2 separate regions of the Homo sapiens genome follow, and region 2 is linked to region 1. Evidence: promoter capture Hi-C in 16 types of primary human blood cells and fetal thymus (Javierre and others, 2016). All regions are on one chromosome and are shown on one strand. Each heading gives the region's core, a stretch centred on a gene start or on the middle of the fragment in contact. The rest is flanking DNA. Distances are from core to core; before and after follow the strand shown.

The links. The method cuts DNA at HindIII sites, captures the fragments that hold promoters and counts their contacts. A CHiCAGO score of 5 or more calls a contact.
Region 2: a fragment that was not itself captured here is called in contact with the fragment with the promoter of PDCL in region 1 in 1 of 17 cell types (M1 macrophages); the score reaches 5.6 in M1 macrophages.

Annotation. Positions count from the first base shown.
Region 1 is chr9:122,825,799-122,831,668 of GRCh38, reverse strand. It overlaps PDCL (phosducin like), which reads left to right and starts at 3,081. Exons shown (of 4, transcript NM_005388.5): 1 at 3,081-3,198; 2 at 4,877-5,053. The coding sequence starts at 4,882. RefSeq lists an enhancer at 2,885-3,179. The HindIII fragment of the contact is 3,273 bases long and covers 1,373-4,645 here.
Region 2 is chr9:122,395,162-122,401,031 of GRCh38, reverse strand. It overlaps PTGS1 (prostaglandin-endoperoxide synthase 1), which reads right to left. Exons shown (of 11, transcript NM_000962.4): 11 at 5,329-5,870. It overlaps LOC124902264 (a long non-coding RNA gene), which reads left to right. Exons shown (of 2, transcript XR_007061758.1): 2 at 1-62. Among named protein-coding and RNA genes, the nearest start is that of PTGS1, 27 kb to the right of the region's middle. The HindIII fragment of the contact is 2,269 bases long and covers 3,486-5,754 here.

The DNA.
Region 1 (5,870 bases), core at 1,832-4,331:
ACTTATATATGAATTTCATTCAGTTACTTCAAAATTTTAAATATTTTTAAAAATAGCCTATAAATCTGGTTGGATCAAGGTTTCCCTTGCTTAAAGATAAATGCTTTAGCCGTCACAAGACAGCTCATGGGTTGTTTTCCCCACTAGGGAATACCTTTAATATACTCTACTGATAAACAGCCCAACAAAAACCTTACAGTAGCGGTAAAATACCTTTAAAACTATAAATTACATACAGTATGCTCATTAAACAGAAACTTCATTATCCACATCATTCCACATTTCTTTTTTTTTTTTTTGAGACGGAGTCTCACTCTGTTGCCAGGCTGGAGTACAGTGGCATAATCTCAGCTCACTGCAACCTCCACCTCCTGGGTTCAAGCGATTCTCCTGCCTTAGCCTCCCCAGTAGCTGAGACTACAGGCGTGCGCCACCATGCCCAGCTAATTTTTGTATTTTTAGTAGAGACGGGGTTTCACCATATTGGCCAGGATGGTCTTGATCTCTTGACCTCGTGATCTGCCCACCTCGGCCTCCCAAAGTGCTGGGATTACAGGTGTGAGCCACCATGCCTGGCCCATTCCACATTTCTAACAGGAAAAATGAGTGGTTCTGTTGGATATTATTAGATAGCTAACTCATGTACACATATTCCTGACAGATGCAAGCTACATTCCCAACAAAGACATCACTATATCTATACAACCAGGAGACTGAATATATTAAAAGGTCTGAATTTGAGACCAACGTGGGCAACATAGCAAGACCCCATTTCTACTTTTTTTAAAAAAGGTTGAATATGGCCGGGCGCGGTGGCTCACGCCTGTAATCCCAGCACTTTGGGAGGCCGAGGCGGGTGTATCACGAGGTCAGGAGATCGAGACCATCCTGGCTAACACGGTGAAACCCCGTCTCTACTAAAAAATACAAAAATTAGCCGGGCGTGGTGGCGGGAGCCTGTAACCTGGGAGGCGGAGATTGCAGTGAGCCGAGAATTGCGCCACTGCACTCCAGCCTTGGCAACAGAGTAAGACTCCGTCTTAAATAAATAAATAAATAAATAAACCAGTGTCGGGCAGTTCTTTATAGCAGTATGAACTGCCTGACACTGGGTTATTTATTTACAGCAGTATGAAAACGGACTTATTAATACAGTATTCTTGAATGGGTGTGTGTTTGTGTGTGGTATTTTTTGACTCCTCTGAGGGCCTCAGCAAACAGCCTCTCTGAAAACAGGCAGGTACAGAAATTTGCAGACAATTTCAGGTGGTCCTAGAACCACAAATTAAGATCCCCTACCCCAAATTAAGAGCCCTATTTTAAACAGTGTATCTTTCTAGAATATTTTCTATGATTCAATTTACCCAAAGCTTTCTATGAGCAACTTCACGGTTGTGTATTGGATACTTCAACAAGGGCTCAGAATTTGAAATCATTTTAGGTTTTAAAAAAGTTGCAAAAACAGACGACAAAGTATGCCTGAGGAAAAAGAAAAAAAAGTTGCAAAATATCATAGTATGGCTTTACCCTGGAAGAAGAAAACAAAGTTGCAAAAATAGGATAGTGCTTCCCTAGATTCTTCATCTAATAGAATCTCCAAAAGTTCACATCTTACATAGTATAATTATTAAAACTATTGATACAATACTACTAATATGAATTAATAGGCCTTATTCAAATTTCGTCAGTTGTCCCATTCATGTCCTTTTTATTTTTCTTTTTTGAGACGGAGTCTCAGTCTTGACCCCCAAGCTGGAGTGCAGTGGTGCGATCTCAGCTGTCTGCAACCTCCGCCTCCCGGGTTCAAGCGATTCTCCTGCCTCAGCCTCCGAGTAGCTGGGATTACAAGTGTGCACCACCATGCCCGGCTAATTTTTGTATTTTTAGTAAAGACGGGGTTTCGCCATGTTGGCCAGGCTGGTCTCGAACTCCTGACCTCAGGTGATCTGCCCGCCTCGGCCTCCCAAAGTGCTGGGATTACAGGAGTGAACCACCGCACCCGGCCCCATGTCCTTTTTCTATACCAGGAGCCAATTCCGGATTTCACATTACATTCCTGCTCTGTCACCCAGGCTGGCCTCCAAGTCCTGGGCTGAGCGATCCTCCCGCCTCAGCCTCCTGCGTAGCTGGGACTACAGGCGCGCGCCACCACTCCTGGCTGCCGCTTCTTTAAAATGGTGAAACCCCGTCTCTACTAAAAATAGAAAAAATTAGCCGGGTCTGCTGGCGGACGCCTGTAATCCCAGCTACTCTGGAGGCTGAGGCAGGAGAATCTCTTGAACCCGGGAGGCGGAGGTTGCAGTGAGCCGAGATCGCGTCACTGCACTCCAGCCTGGGCAAGAAGAGCGAAACTCCGTCAAAAAAATATATATATATATTTTAATCTATGCCCTGTACTTGAGGGATTTGTGCTCTCGGGCAAATTACCGAACGTCTCTGAGTCACTTTTCCGTCTAATAGACGTGATGCGATGAAGAACCAATAAAAAACACACTTTGAATGGCTTCGGAAACTTCGAAGGGAAGTGAATACATTTTTCTTTTCTTTCTTTCTTTTTTTTTGAGACAGTCTCGCTCTGTCGCCCAGGCTGGGGTGCAGTGGCGCGATCTCGGCCCACTTCAACTTCTGCCTCCTGGGTTTAAGCGATTCTCCTGCCTCAGCCTCCCGAGTAGCTTGGATTACAGGCGTCGGCCACCAGGCCCGGCTAATTTCTGTATTTTTAGTAGAGACGGGTTTTCAACGTGTTGGCCAGGCTGGTCTTGAACTCATGACCTTAAGTGATCCGCCCGCCTCGGCCTCCTAAAGTGCTGGCATTACAGGCGTGAGCCACCGCGCCCGGCCTGTGAATACATTTTTCTTATTGCTTGACGCTGGGTCATACAATTCACTTTTTTGTTGTGCAGATTAAAACCAAAACAAAGCAATTAGGAGAGCGTTGTTGTCGAGGTGTTTTGTTCCAAGGTAGGACCCGTAGCTTCTCCCCTGCCCCTCAGCTGGGAGTAGCGGCTTCTGATTGGACAATGCGCGTCCGCCACGACGCAGGAAGGCCGCCTCATTGGTCCGCGCTGTCGGGCTTCGGCGGCTTTTCTCTTTAGCGCTCAGGGCGCTGACCCACTGCTCTTCCTCTTAAGAAAGTGCTCCATTCCTTCCGGCGCCCGGAGCTGCTGGCCCAAAGGGATCCGGAGCGAGCTAGGGCAGGTAACTGCATTGGGGTCCACCGGGAAGCGGCAGCAGCTGCGGACTACGGGAGGGAGTGGGGTTGGCGAGCTTGGGTAAAACTGCCCCTTCTTCGCTCTGTCTCGACCCCCAAGTTCTCCGCGTCTTCCTCGTCCCCTTTCCTCCTCTGGCCCCACCTCCCCCGGGCCCTTCCAGCCTTCCCCCAAAAGCTCCACACACCCCTCTGCTTCCCGTCCGGGGGCCCCGCCTCCTCTGCTCGCGTCTCCAGGGGGCCCGCCCTCGTCTCCTCCCCGCAGCGGTCCCTCCTTTAGGAGCGCAACTCCTTCCCTCCCCTCCGCCGCTGCTGTGTCCCCCGCTTGGCCCATTCCTGGGCCTTAAGTTTGGTTTTGTTCCTTCTTGGCACCTCCACCTGTCTCTCCATGATCCCTGTCTCCTTTGCATCTGACTGCTGGAGTCCTCCGATTCTCCCGTTGACCCAGGCTGCGAGTTTAGCAAATTGTGCAGCGGCATTGTGCTGGGCTTTGGGGATAGAGGTAGTGACTAGAGGTCCCTACGTTCAAGAACTCCTTGCCCGGTGGGAGAGAGTCACTTTGTAAATGGAGTATGATAGGCCCGGTGATAAGTCTTTAAGGCAGCCGCATTCCTGCTGAATTCTCAAGCAGGCCTCTGGGGGCTAAGCTGCATCTTTTCATCAGAATGCCCTTGGCTACTTCTGATGCAGAAGCCTGGTCCTTTATATTTTTAGTTTTTATTTTTTTTTGAAACAGAGTCTCGCTCTGTCTCCCAGGCTGGAGTGCAGTGGCGTGATCTTGGCTCACTGCAACCTCCGCCTCCCGGATTCAAGAGATTCTCGTGCCTCAGCCTCCTGAGTAGCTGGGAAAACAGACACCCGCCACCACACCTGGCTAATTTTTGTTTGTTTGTTTGTTTGCTTTTACTAGTAGAGACAAGAGTTTCGCCATGTTAGCCAGGCTGGTCTCGAATACCTGGTCTCAAGTGATCCTCCCTCCTCGGCCTCCCTAAGTGCTGGGATTACCTGCGCGAGCCCGGCCATCATAGTCCTTTAAACCCTTGGGAGTTATTAAAATCTTTGTATGGGCCCTTCTTTTAAACTGTCAGAATAGGTAGCGTTTCAGAGACCATCCATCCAAGCCCTCAGGGTGTTGTCTGGGAAGTTGAAGGCTGGTGACAGAGAGTGATTGCCTAGACAAATAGTGACTCAGCATTGTACTCTTGATGCCTCTTTTTGGGGTTTTTCCTGAGGATACTTAAACAATTTTTCAATTAGGCAGCAGTCTTAGCTGGTGGGAAAACTAAAAGCACAGATAAAACCACTAGTCAGTAGATTCCTCCAAGCCAGTGCAGGTGGCTTGTACACTTAACTCAGACTAGAGTAATTTATACCTCAGGCTCTTGGAGTCAGGAATCCCTGGGGTCTGGTCCCAGCTCCGTCATTCGCTGTTAAGCTTGGTGAAGACTCTTCCTTTATCTGAGCTTCAGTTTTACCTTCTGTTAAAGAGTGTGATAAGCCCTAACACACAGGGTAACGGTAGGGATTTGTTAAGATTTTGGTTATGAAAATAATCACTTTAGTGTCCTGGAAATTGTAGGATCTCAGCACAGGCGAGCCCCCTATGCTTCAGATTCATGTCTGTCTGGCTCAAATCAGCAAAGAACCTGATATGCTTTCTTTTTCCAGACACCATGACCACCCTTGATGATAAGTTGCTGGGGGAGAAACTGCAGTACTACTATAGCAGCAGTGAGGATGAGGACAGTGACCACGAGGACAAGGACCGAGGCAGATGTGCCCCAGCCAGCAGTTCTGTGCCTGCAGAGGCTGAGCTGGCAGGCGAAGGCATCTCAGTTAACACAGGTACTGAGAAACCCTGGGCTCTGGGAACAGGCTTAAAAAATGTACATTAAATACATATTAATTAAATACATATTAATAAATTAATTCTCCTGATCACTTTTAACTCTGGTCCCACTTTCAGAGGTAACCTAGTCTTTTCATTATGTGTGCTTCTAGCCTTTTAGTGCACAATACAAATGTATGTGCATAGCAGCATGGTAATGAACACAGACTGGCCTGGATTTGAATCCTGCATCTCGTATTAACAGTTTGATATCTCATAAATCACAAGTATGAGTATATGGGTAGTGCAAATTCCTAAAAATGGCATATTTACACTTGTACATTTTAATATTGTCAAATTGCTGTCAGTTGAGTTGAGGTGGCAGTAGTTTATAGTTTAATCAGCAATCTGTGTTTCTCCGTACACTTGACCTCCTACTGTGTTATGAAACTCCTTGATCTTTGCTATTGTAGTAATTCATTGTAGGTTTATTTCCGCCCCCACCACCTTTTTTTTGTTTTGTTTTGTTTTTTTGTTTTTTAAGACAAGTTCTCACCTTGTTGCTCAGGCTGGAGTGCCTTGGTGCCATAATGGCTCACTGCAGCCTCAACTTCCTGAGCTCAAATGATCCTTCTGCCTCAGCTTCCATGAGGTTCCTCTCTTAAAAAGCTGGGACCACGTGTAGCTGGGACCACAGGCGCTTGCCACCGTGCCCAGCTAATTTATTTCTTTATTTTTTGTAGAGATGGGGTCTCACTTTGTTGCCCAGGCTGGCCTCACACTGCTGGCCTCAAGCGATCATCTGCCTCAGCGTCCCATAGGCATGAACCAATG
Region 2 (5,870 bases), core at 3,371-5,870, 430 kb after region 1:
GAAGAAAGTGCTTCACTGTGATTCTCTTAATAGTACTCAATAAAAGTATCTTTTAAGTTTTAGTATTTCTTTCTGTCATTCACACATAGCTGTTTTAATTTAGAGTCCATTTTTATAGGAAAAGCATGATAAAGTTGAAAAGTGGGTTGTAGGCGTGTCTAACATATTTTTGTGTGAGACATATTTTGTGTGTGGATACATAGCAGGTGTGTATATTTATGGGTTACATGAGATGTTTTGATACAGGCATGCAATGCATAATAATCATGTCAGGGCAAATGAGGTGTCTCTTCACTTTGTTGATTGTTTCCTTTGCTGTGCAGAAGCTTTTTAACTTGATGTGATCCCATTTATCCATTTTTGCTTTGGTTGCCTGTGCTTGTGAGGTATTACTCAAGAAATCTTTGCCCACTTCAATGTCCTAGAGAGTTTCCACAGAGTTTTTGCATAGTGGTTTTGTAGTTTGAGGTCTTAGATTTAAGCTTTTAATTCAAAATTTGATTTTATTTTTGTATATGGCAAGAGATAGGAGTCTAGTTTCATTCTTCTGCATATGGATATTCAGTTTTCCCAGCATCATTTATTGAAGATTAACTATCCTTTTCCCAATGTATGTTCTTAACAACTTTATCAAAAATGAGTTCCTGTAGGTGTATAGATCTATTTCTGGGTTCAGTAGTCTGTTTCATTAGTCTATGTGTCTGTTTTTATGCCAGTATAATGCTATTTTGGTTACTATATCTCTGTAGTATAATTTTAAGTCAGGTAATGCGATTCCTCCAGTTTTGTTCTTTTTGCTTAGGATAGCTTTGGCTATTCTGGGTCTTTCGTGGTTCTCTATAAATTCTAGGATTGTTTTTTCTGTTTATATGGAGAATGTCATTGGTATTTTGATAAGGATTGTATTGAATCTATAGACTGCTTTGGGTTGTATGGACATTTTAACAATGTTGATTCTTCCAATCTATGAATATGGAATATTTTTCTGTTTTTCGTGTGTCCTCTCCAATTTCTTTCATAGTGTTTTATTTTCCATTGTCAAGATCTTTCACTTCTTTGATTAATTTCCAGGTACTTAATTTTATTTGTAGCTATCGTAAATGGGATTACTATTTTCAGAATTTTCACTGTTTTCACATAGAAATGTTACTAATTCTTTCTTCTCTTTGATCAATTCTGCTATTAAGAGACTCTGATGCATTCTTTAGTAGTCAGTTGCATTTTTCAGCTTCAGAATTTCGGCTTGATTCTTTTTAATTATTTCAATATCTTGGTTAAATTGATCTGATAGGATTCTGAATTCCTTCTCTGTATTATCTTGTATTTCACTGAGTTTCCTCAAAATAGCTATTTCAAATTCTCTGTCTGAAAAGCCTAGAGGTGTAGATATATGACCTCTCTCTGAGAGATAGAGAAAGATCACATATTTCTATCTCTCTAGGATAAATCCCTGATGACTTATTTAGTTTGTTTAGTAAGGTCATGTTTTCTTGAGTGGTATTGATGCTTGTGGATGTTCACTGGTGTCTGGACATTGAAAAGTTAGATATTTGTGGTAGTCTTTGCAGTCTGGGCTTCTTGGGAAAGCCTTCTTGGGAAGGCTTTCCAGGTATTCGAAGGGACTTGGGTGTTGTCATCTAAGTTTTTGGTCACCATAGTCATATCAGCATTAGGAGGCACCCCAAGCCCAGTAATGCTGTGGCTCTTGCAGACTTGTAGAGGTACCACTTGATGGTCTTGGATAAGATCTGGAAGAATTGTCTGGATTACCAGGCAGATATTCTTGTTCTCTTCCCTTACTTTCTCCCAAACAGACAGAGTCTCTCTGTCTCTGTGCTGAGCTGCCTACAACTGGGGGAGGGGTGGCACAAGCACCCCTGTGGCCACCACCACTGGGACTGCACTAGGTCAGACCTGAAGCCAGCACAGCACTGTTTCTTACCCAAGGCCCATTATAACCACTACCTGGCTACCACCACCTTTGTTTACTCAAGGCTTTAGGGCTTTGCAGTTAGCAGGCAGTAAGTCAGCCAAGCTTGTGTCCTTCCCTTCAGGGCAGCGAGTTCCCCCAAGCAGGTCCGTAGATGCTGTTTGGGGACCAGAGCCTGGAGTTGAAAATCTTAAGAATCTGCCTTGTGTTCTATTCTACTGCAGCTGAGCTGCAGACAAAGCTACAAGTCAAGTCTTTCCCACTCATCCCTCCCCTTCCCACAGGCAGAGGAGTCTCTCCCCATGGCCAGCACCACCACAGGCCCATGGGGAGTACTGCCTGGCTACCACCAATGTTCACACAAGGCCAAGAGCTCTTCAGGAAGCTTGTGGTGAATGCTGCCAGACCTAGGACTCACGTATCAGGGCAGTGGTCTCCCCTCTGGCCCAGGTCAGGTCCAGAAATGCTGTGCGAGAGCCAAGGCCTGGAATCAGGGATACTGAGAGCCCACTTGGTGCTCTGCCCCACTGTGGCCGAGCTAGTACCTAAGCTGCAAGATGAAATCCCCTTTACTTTTCCCCCTGCTTTTCTCAAGTAGAAGGAGTCTCTCCCCATAGCCACCACAGCTGGGAATGTGCTGGGTCACACCTGAAGTCAGCACATCTCAGAATCTCACTCAAGGGCCATAGTGTGTACTACCTGGCTACTGCTGCTGATTATTCAGGGCCCAAGGGCACTTTAGTCAGCAGGTGGTGAATACTATCAGGACTAGATCCTTTCATTCAAGGCAACAGGTTCCCTTCTGCCTTATATGGCCCATATAAGCCCAGGATATGTCTAGAAATGTCATCTGGAAGTTAGGTCCTGGAATGGGTGCCTCAGGACTCTGCCCGGTGCCCTAAACTACTGTGGCTGAGCTGGTATCCAAGTGGCAAGACAAGTCCTCTTTACTCTTCTCTCCTCAAGCTGAAGGAAGGAGTCTCTTTGAGAGCTGTGAGTTGCACTGCCTAGGGTTGGGAGAGGGGTGGCACAAGCACTCCCTTGGCTATCGCAGCAGGTCACATGCCCCTCAAGTCCACTGGCTCCAAGCGCAGATCAGACTTTCCTAGGAGTTGTAATCCTTGTGGCCTATACTGCCTTTCAAGTTTATTTAGAACCCCAGAGCCCTTTAGCCCATTCAGCAACTGGGATGGATGCTTCCCCTCTGGCTAGGGCTGATCTAAATTCTCCCTCATGGGTATTAGCTGAGTTCTGCCTGGTGTTGCTTTCCAGTGTAACAAGGCAACACTGAGTTCTAACACAAAGTCCTACAACCACTACACTCTCCCTACACAGATTCTCTGTGCCATGTGGCTGCTGCCAGGGATCGGGGAGGGATGGCTCTGGCAATTCAAGACCATCCTTCCTACCCTCCTCAGTGCCTCTTTCAGTAATATAAAGTTAAAACCAGGTACTACAATCATTCACTTGAATTTTGGTTCTAATGAAGGTGCATTTTTTGTGTAGACAGTTGTTAAATTTGGTGTTCCTGTGGGGAAGACAATTGGTAGAAGCTTCTATTCTGCCTTCTTGCTCTGCCTCCTGCGTTTCTGACACTTTTTTTAACTCAAAAATTACTAAAAGAGTGGACTGTGTGTACCCAACAGTCTTTGTTTCTCTGTTGTTCTATAATTACATAACTTCACTTCTTAAGCTCTTTGCTTGCAACTATATCGAGCTGCTACCAGGTCAACAGTAAGGCCATTGTGATGGTCTTTGTAACATTCTAGGGATAGGGCCCACAGAGGCAGAACAGAACTAAGAAAATTCAGATTCACTGAAGCAGACTTTCCACGTTTCCCAGCCCCTTTGAACACCTTCCCTATGTATGAGGAATTTTCCTTATCATGGGTTCCTCCTTTTCAAGGCACAAACCAGAAAACTCACTTTCCATTCTTTCTTGTAGCTGCAGTACAGACACATGAGCTGGGCTCCACCAATCCGACACAAAATAAAGATAATTTTAATTCTAAGTAGAGAAAAGAGAGGAAGCAAGTATCACACAGATTCCATTTTCCAGCAAAAGTGGCTGTAGAAGCAGCCTGTTTTGGAAGGCAGCAGTAGTGGGGTTTGGGCAGCAAAGGTGTCATTTGAGATGCTGTGTCCATGGCAGTAGTAGAGGCATCTCCACTGGACAGTGGCCACCATTCCTAGGTGCAAACCCTCCAAGCCTAATTCCCTGGTCCTCCCAGTGGCTCCATGAGCTATGTAATGTCCTATAATAAATTCCTTCCTGCTTATACAGGCTAGAGAATGTTCTGTTGTTTGCATTGAGAGTCCTGAATGAATCACCCATTGTATTAGTCGGGGTTCTCCAGAGAATTAGAACCAACAGAATATATGTATATTATTATTATTATTATTATTATTATTATTATTTGATTTCCAATAATCAAATAATACAGTGGTTTGTGTATTATTTGATTATTGGAACTTGAATAATAATATACATATATTGGTTACACGTGTAGGATGTGCAGGTTTGTTACACAGGTAAACGTGTGCCATGGTAGTTTGCTGCACAGATCATCCCATCAGCTAGGTATTAACATTAGCTATTCTTCCTGATGGCCCACCTCCCACCCTCCGACAGGCCTCAGCATGTGTTGTTCCCCACCATATGTCCACGTATTCTCATCATTCATCTCCCACGCATAAGTGAGAACATGCAGTATTTGGTTTTCTGTTCTTGTATTATTAGAGAGATAGAAATATATATATATATATATATTCAGTCTTGAATATATAGAGAGAGAGTCAGTCTTGAATATATATATATAGTCAGTCTTGAATATATATATAGTCAGTCTTGAATATATATAGTCAGCCTTGAATATATATATAGTCAGTCTTGAATATATATATATAGTCTTGTATATGTATATATATATTCAGTCTTGTATATATATATATATATTCAGTCCTGTGTATATATATATATATATTCAGTCCTGTGTGTATATATATATATATATATATATATATTCAGTCGTGTGTGTGTATATATATATATATATATTCAGTTCTGTGTGTATATATATGTATAATATATATATTCAGTCCTGAATATATGTGCACATATCCTCCATATCCATGGGTTCCATATCTGTGAATTCAACCAAATGCAGATCAAAATATTCAAATACAATAAAAATAATACAAAGAAAAAATACAGTATAACAACTAGCATTTACACTGTATTAGGTATTATAAGTAATCTAGAGATGATTGAAGTTATACAGGAGATTGCACATAGGTTATATGCAAATACTATACCACTTCATATAAAGGACTTGAGGAACCACAGATTTTGGTATCTGTAGAGATCCTGAAACAAATCCCCCACAAATACCAAAGGATGGCTGTATATAGCTTTATTTTTAGAAATTAATTCACACAATTGTTGGGGTTGGCAAACTTCAAATCCATAGGGCAGACTAGCAGGCTGGAAACTCAGGCAGGAGTCGATGGCTATAGTCTTGAGGCAAAGTTTCTTCTTTTCCAGGAAACTGCAGTGTTTGTTCTTGAGGCCTTTCAACTAATCAGGTGCAGCTCACCCAAATTATTTAAGTAATCTCTTTCACTTAAAGTCAACTGATTGTAGATGTTAATCACATCTACAAAATACCTTCACAGCCACACCTAGATTACTGTTTGATTAAATAACTGTGTGCTATAGCCCAACCAAACTGACAAATAAAACCAACCATCACATCCACCAAATCAAAACTCCAGGAACAAATGTTTAAATTACAAGCATTAAGATTCTTCACTCTGAAGAAGCTTTCTTGGTGCATTTAGCCTGTTTCCCTTTGCAAAACTTTCATGTGCAGTTGTCAATACTAAGCAAAGTCTACCTAATCTAGGCACTTGCATTTAAGAGAGGAATACCTCTGGAACC